Linked DNA regions of Homo sapiens: region 1 is linked to region 2. Evidence: promoter capture Hi-C in 16 types of primary human blood cells and fetal thymus (Javierre and others, 2016). All regions are on one chromosome and are shown on one strand. Each heading gives the region's core, a stretch centred on a gene start or on the middle of the fragment in contact. The rest is flanking DNA. Distances are from core to core; before and after follow the strand shown.

Region 1 (3,358 bases), core at 477-2,976, 140 kb after region 2:
TTGCTTAGAAAGACTGTCCCTGTTTTAAGATTATTTTAAAAAATACCCATTTTTTAAAATTTTTATATTTATCTCTTTATATGGAAACTTGTATATGGGTTTAATTTCATTTTTGTCTTAGTAGACAACCAATATCCTTAGCATCAGTTATTAAATATTTTCTCTCTACTGTAAAATCGTAACTGAATAATAAAATTCCGATATGCACAGGAATCCCTGTCTGTATTCTTTATTATGTTCTATTGATCTGTATATATGTTCCTGTGCCAATTCCATAGTTTCAATTTTTCAGGGCAAATCCTACAATTTTTTTTCCTTCTTGATAACTTTAGAACTACTTGTCAGGTTCCACTGAGAGTTCTGCTGCGAATCTTATTGACTGAGTTCTCTGTATGTAAAAAGTTCTCCTGGCATGAAAAGGAACTCAGGCTATGGAATCAAATAGGCCTGTGTATAAACCAGTTGTTAGCTGTGGGAATGATAATTGCACCTGTTTTACAGAAATGTCAAGTTTACATGAGACAATGCATAAAGGTGCAAAAGCTAATGCTTGGTGTACAGACATGCTTACAAAATATTATGTATATCTCCATAGTGACAGAGAAATGATATGTTCTGTGACAGTGTTATAGCTTATTAATCAGAATAGCCTTGCATTCATTTAAGAAATAGCATACTTATATACACATGTGAATAAAATTTCTGTCTTTAGTGATATTCCACTTGATACATAAATAAACACATTAGTGTATTCCTGTACTCATTCATTTATTTCTTTATTGATTCCTTCCAGTAGTATCTTGGTGTGGTTGCTGTGGGTAGGCGTGGCGCTTGGTGCTTGTGGATAGAGCTTATAGATATGCCTTATGGTAAATGCCGCCTGGAGGGAGGGCAGACGTGAAACAAATAGTTGTACCTAATTTTGTAATTACGATTGAGAAATACGGTGTGAAGAAAAGTTACAGTGTCTGTACAGCTCTGGCTCAGTTTGATGAAGTTCACTTTGTCAAATAGCTCAGTTTGTTGAATTTACAAAATTTGCTTCTCAAACATCATTTTAAAAGCTTTAATGAGAATGAGTGTAGATCAGATTCTGAAGCTGGACTCTGTGGGTTTAAATCCTGATTCTGCCACTTATACATGCTTTGTGACCTTGGGTGAGTTACTTAACCTCTCTGTGCTCCAGTTTCATCATATGTAAACTGAGTAGAGTATGAAGCCACTACCGAGGGTTTTTATGAAGAGCAAATCAGTTGTTATATGTAAAAGTTTGTGGAGCAGTGTCTGGCTCATAGAGTGTTGTAGAGGGTGTGTTAGCCATTATTGTGACTTCGTTAGCATCCAAATTTTTAACACCTCATATGGAATTTTAGAATTATTTATTTTTCCCAAATTCTTTTAAAGACCACCTTTCTCATGGTATAACTTACATGCAGTAAACCCATGTTAAGAGTACGTGCTAAGAGTAGCACCATGTTAAGATTAAGTTTTATAAATGTATGCACCCATTTAATCCCCAGTACAACTAAGGCAGAATATTTCCATGAGCCCCCAGGGTTCCTTGGTATCTATCCCTCTGCAGTCATTTCAAATTCCTTTTACTGCATTTGTTTTACCAGAGTGTCAGTCTTTGTCTTTTAACATGTTTAGAATTTTTAATTCATTTTTTGGTGGATAATGTATATGAAATTTGAGATACTAGTTATATGGTCTGTTATACTAATTATCACTTCTGGCAGTCTCTATTTTTTGCGAGTTTTGAGTAAGTGTCTATGTTTAATTGCTTCTTGTTAGAAACCAAAATGTCAGCATTTTACTTATGATAGTATTGGTTCACCAAGCAATTTGGTGAACAAATTAATTTATAGTTAAATTTCTTTTAACTGTAAAACAAGTTAATTTGTTTTACGGTATAATTGAAAGTTTGTTTTCCTACATAATAAAATATGTAGGTAAGTCTGTGTGTGGTGGCTCATGCCTGTAATCTCAACACTTTGGGAGGCTGAGGTGGGTGGATCACTTGAGGTCAGGAGTTTGAGACCAGCCTGACCAACATAGTGAAACCCCACCTCTACCAAAAAATACAAAAATTAGCCGGACTACATGGCATGTGCCTGTAGTCCCTGCTACTCAGGGAAGCTGAAGTGGGAGAATTGCTTGAACCTGGGGGCGGAGATTGCAGTGAGCCTAGATTGTGCCACTGCACTCCAGCGTGAGTGACAGAGTGAGACCCTGTCTCAAAAAGAAAAAAAAAATGCAGAAGAGGCATTTAGCTTTTTGCCATTTTTTTTTTTTTTTTTTTTTTTTTGCTGTTGCAGGGGGGATGTTGGTAGGAGTGGAGGATAATTTAGTCTTAGCAGAAATTAATATGTAGAAGTCTTAAGCTTTTCTCCCTTAGATTGCCCCAAAAGGACAGATTTAACTTCTCAGCATCTCTGCTTTGCTAATACCAAAATTACCTATAAGGATAGATACCAAGAGAGGGAGGGCACTGTATGAGTGGTCCAGTATTTGGACACACAACTTTTCCCTGCAGTAATCATAATGAAAGTAATAATTTAATGGGAGCTGACATTATTTCGTACTTACTGTGAATAGGCATCATGTTAAAGCCTACGTACATCTCATTTAATTCTTCAACCCCATGAGTTTGATGGCACTGTTATTCCCATTTTACAGGTGATGAATAAGAATCTTAGAGAAGTACCTTGCCCAAGACCACACACAGTGGGTTTTTGTTGTTGTTGTTGTTGTTTTTAGATTTTTTTTCCTTTTAGTTTAGAAAGAGAAAAGGAAGGAAATAAAGAAAGTTTGTTAAAATAACTATTGCATAAAAGGACATCTGGGCTAGATGCTGGGATGTACCTCTTCCAGAATAGGGACTGATGATTTAAACAAAAAAAAAGACAAAAAAGAAAGAAAAAAGAAATAAATTATTCTTCTCAATACTGTTTGGGATAATTGCATTGTTTTCATCTTTTCAACACACAAAACAGCCTCTTTGGGAAGCACTGTGATGAGACTGGCAAGAATGGCTGGTGCCTCGACTCTCTAGAATGGTAGGGGGAGCCCTGAGAGAGGCATTCTACTAAACCCCACTGCAAGCATTCGCATTCTTTACTCCTCCTACTTTTGGAATTGGGAAGGACCAGACTCAAGCTAAGTTCTCAATATATTAACTTTTAGGGATACCCACTGCCTCTCCTGACCCTCTTCTAGCAAACTCCCCTGCTGGCCCCTTTTCCGCCAGCTAGCTGCAGCAACCATACCAAGGGCCAGGAGGCTGCTTGGTGGTCTCAGCTAAGCAAAAGCGGGGTATCATCATCACTGTTCGGGCCACACATAGTTGGTAAGTGAT
Region 2 (3,549 bases), core at 2-2,501:
AATATGGTCAAATATTAAGAACAGCTGAATTTAAGGGGTGGGTATACAGACAACAATCAATACTGCACTTTCAACTTTTCAAAACATAATGTTGAAAAAATGTTTAAATAAATAGGTCATAAAAACCAAGTCCTCCATACCCCAAAGTCACCAGGTCAGTATTCTCCGGAATGACTTCTGGATCCTCACCGTCCTCAAGGCATTTCAGTTTATCAAGGCTAAAACAAAAAGGAAAAGCAATACTTTAAGGTCGACTCTGCATCTGGTTCACAGCGAGTTAGGGTTGTTTTCCTAAATACATTACTGAATTACGAAGTCAGATAAAATCCAGCAGGCGGCTCAGAGAGGCCAGAACTTAAGACAACGATTTCTGTGATTATATTTTATAATGAAAAGGCCGATGAAGGCAGCCAGTACTGTTAAATGGAGAAAGAGATTAAAGTTATTTTTATATTTTCATCCCCAAATAAGGCACTTTTAAGAAATATTTCAGTAACAGAATACCCGGAAGGTCCCCAAAAGAAACCAGTTAGTCGGGGTTTTAACACTCCTCTGATGAAGTCTCCCGCAGCTTCACCATTACTCAGGTTCCTCCATTGTCAAAGTGTCTGTCAATGGCAGGTACACGTCGCTGTTGCCCTGATTGCTTTTCTTTATTAACAAGCACTCTTAGAATAAGCAAATGGAAAAACTAGTCTTTGATGCAGCTGTCTTGTCCCTTTGCTCCAACTCGTAGAAACTGTGCATTCGGGTCCCAGGACTTCTCCTGGTGTCCCAGGAAGGCTCCAGCGGGTTGAAAGCTTTAAAGGGTAATACTCCTAGCCCAGGTCTAAACCACAGGCCCTTCTCAGGGATGAGTCCCAGAGGAGCGCACGAGCAAGGCTGCACCCTGTTTGACCCCAAGCTGCAAGAGCCCCTTTGCTCCGCACTCACCCGCACACCGCCCTCAGCTCAGCCGCCGCCTCCAGGCTGCAGTCCAGATCCCTGGCCACCGCGGCATCCTCCCGGTCGGAGTCAGCTGCCTGGCTCCCAGGCAGAGCGGATGCCGGCGGCTCCCTCAGCGACAAGTCCCCGGCCCCGCGCAGACGGCCCCGCCACAGCTCCCCAAAGGCGCCCACATGGAAAGCGCGCGTATTTAGCTCGGGAAGCTCATACTCTGGAAAGTTGCAGCCGCCACTGCCGGAGACTGGGTCCTGCCTGCCACCCACCCCGCTACACGTAGGGCCACCTCGGCTTCCTTCAGCCATGTTCGCCCCACTCCTTCCCCTGCAAAAGCCTGCAGATCAAGGCCTCGCAGAGCGTGATGGAAGTTGTAGTTGCTTGGGGCGCCCGGCCGGCGAGCGGCGAGGCGGCGCGGGCAGGGCATCAGAAACTACATTTCCCGGCAGGCCATGGGCAGGCCCGCCCCAGGGCGCGGCACCGCGAGGCTCTACGTGCAGGGCGCAGCATTGTTCTCCGACCCGGGCGGTGCGGGAACCGTTGCGGCTGTCGGTTAACCGCAGCGGGTGGGGCTGGGTTTCTGGTCCCCGAGTTACGTAGCAACTGTCTCTGCCCGGTAGGGCGGCCTCGCCAGGCGCTTAGGCCCCGTTCCTTGCGGCTTTCGGACTAAGGGGTGCAGGGCTTTTTCTTGACTGGGGTTCAAGGACTGCTCTGCTGCCTGATTGCTTTAGAGCCTAAGAAACAAGGAGGGCGAGGGCCGAGACCAGGGACACGACCAGCCCTCCAGATCTGGTTCTTTCACAAGCTCCGCAGAGGCCCCATGTTGGTGTGCGTGTGCAGTAGTGTTTCAGAGCGTCTGTGTATCACACGCTACATGATTAACCCTAATGTATGTTTTTAATGTTTTTAAAAATTACAACAACCTTTCCGGATAGGGCGTATCACCCCGTGTTGCTGTTGAGGAAGGATTTACCTGCGGGGAAAATAGAAGCAGGATCGGAACTCAGTCTGGCTTCAGATGGAGCTCTCTCCATTTCTCAGAGGCCCTGAAGGATACAGCAGGACATACTATTTATTTATTAGACTGTAATCACATGCCATATAATTCACCCATTTGAAGTGTTCAGTGATTTTTGGTATATTCACAGGCTTGGGCAACCATCACCACTATTTGAGAGCATTTTTACCACTCGAAAGAAGAAACTTGTACTTTTTAGCTATCACCCCTGATCCTCCCAACTCCTCCAGCCCTAGCCAACCAAGAACCTACTTTGTCTCTCTAGATTTAACTAATCTGGACATTTAATATAAACGGAATTATATGGTCTTTTGGTGGCTGGCTTAATGTTTACAAGGTTTGTTACAGGTAGTTAGGCATGAGCAGGGCAGGAGAGGGCTCTTCCCTCACCCACTAGGAATGTGGGGTGATGCTTAGGCATTTATCACATTGCCTCTAAAAGTGATAAATTGGCAGCCGGTGCCAGGGAGAGGCCATTTCCTGATGGCCCACACCTGTTGCACTAAAGTGCTCGTTGAATGCAGGTGACAGGGAGAAGCAACTTCCTGGGCATATGCATTAAGAGACAAAATCGGGGAGTATGACCTTTCAGGGGGACTCTATCGGAAAAGGGAAGAAAGCCTCAGATGGGCACGCATACAACTTCATACATATTGCGCTGTGCTCACTTCCCAAGGGTAAGGAGGGCACTGCGCATGGAGGCAGCCCACCCTAAGGGAAGAATCATGGGAAAGGAGCCAGCCTGTAAAGTCCTAGGATCGAGGTCAATATCACAGTTGACCTCAGTGACAGCTTGGGACTCTTCCGAGCGTGCTTTCCTTTCTTTCCTAAAGGCCTTTTAAATAAGCTTCCACTCCTGCTCTGAAACTTGCCTCAGTCTCTTTTTGTGCCTTATTGCCCCTCGGTCAAATTCTTTCTTCTGAGGAGGCAAGAACTGAAGTTGCTGCAGACCCATACAGATTTGCCCTGGTAACTTGGATACCTGCCACCTGTAACACGTTCATCCATTTTGTAGTATGTGTCAGTACTTCATTCCTTTTTTGGCTGAATAATATTGCATTGTATGTATATGCCACATTTTATTTATCAAAAAGTTTTTACCTTTTGGCGTTGCTATGAACATTCATGTACACATTTTTGTGCAAATACGTTTTCATTTCTCTTGGGCATGTGCCCAGTAGTATACAGTCAGCCCTCCCTATCTGTGGGTTCTGCATCCTCCAATTCAACCAACCACATATCAAAAATTACAGTATTCCCAGGTTGCAGAACCTGAGGATAAGAGGAATTTTCCTATGGGCGGATTCCACAGGGCTGACTGCAAGAAGAGCATCTGTCAATTTTGGAGTCCACAGGGGTCTTCGAAACAGTCCACCCTGCAGATACCAAGGGATTTCTGTATTTATGGAACTCTATTTTCAACTATTTGAGGAACTGCCAGATTTTTTTAAAGTGGCTGTCCCATTTTACTCCCCTCCCCAGCAGGATTCTCCACATCCTTGCCAACACTTATCTGAACTTTTTATTATAACCGTGTCAGTGAGTGTGAAATGGTGTTTCATGACTTTTTATTTGCATCTCCCTAATTATAT

What was found. The method cuts DNA at HindIII sites, captures the fragments that hold promoters and counts their contacts. A CHiCAGO score of 5 or more calls a contact.
Region 1: a fragment that was not itself captured here is called in contact with the fragment with the promoter of SNAPC3 in region 2 in 12 of 17 cell types (naive CD8 T cells, non-activated CD4 T cells, activated CD4 T cells and 9 more); the score reaches 12.1 in naive CD8 T cells.

What each region holds. Positions count from the first base shown.
Region 1 is chr9:15,280,576-15,283,933 of GRCh38, reverse strand. The region is part of intron 1 of TTC39B (tetratricopeptide repeat domain 39B); the gene reads left to right. Among named protein-coding and RNA genes, the nearest start is that of TTC39B, 25 kb to the left of the region's middle. The HindIII fragment of the contact is 1,320 bases long and covers 1,067-2,386 here.
Region 2 is chr9:15,420,578-15,424,126 of GRCh38, reverse strand. It overlaps SNAPC3 (small nuclear RNA activating complex polypeptide 3), which reads right to left and starts at 1,251. Exons shown (of 9, transcript NM_001039697.2): 1 at 934-1,251; 2 at 141-218. The coding sequence starts at 1,247. RefSeq lists an enhancer at 775-894 and a silencer at 1,235-1,524. The HindIII fragment of the contact is 2,004 bases long and covers 803-2,806 here.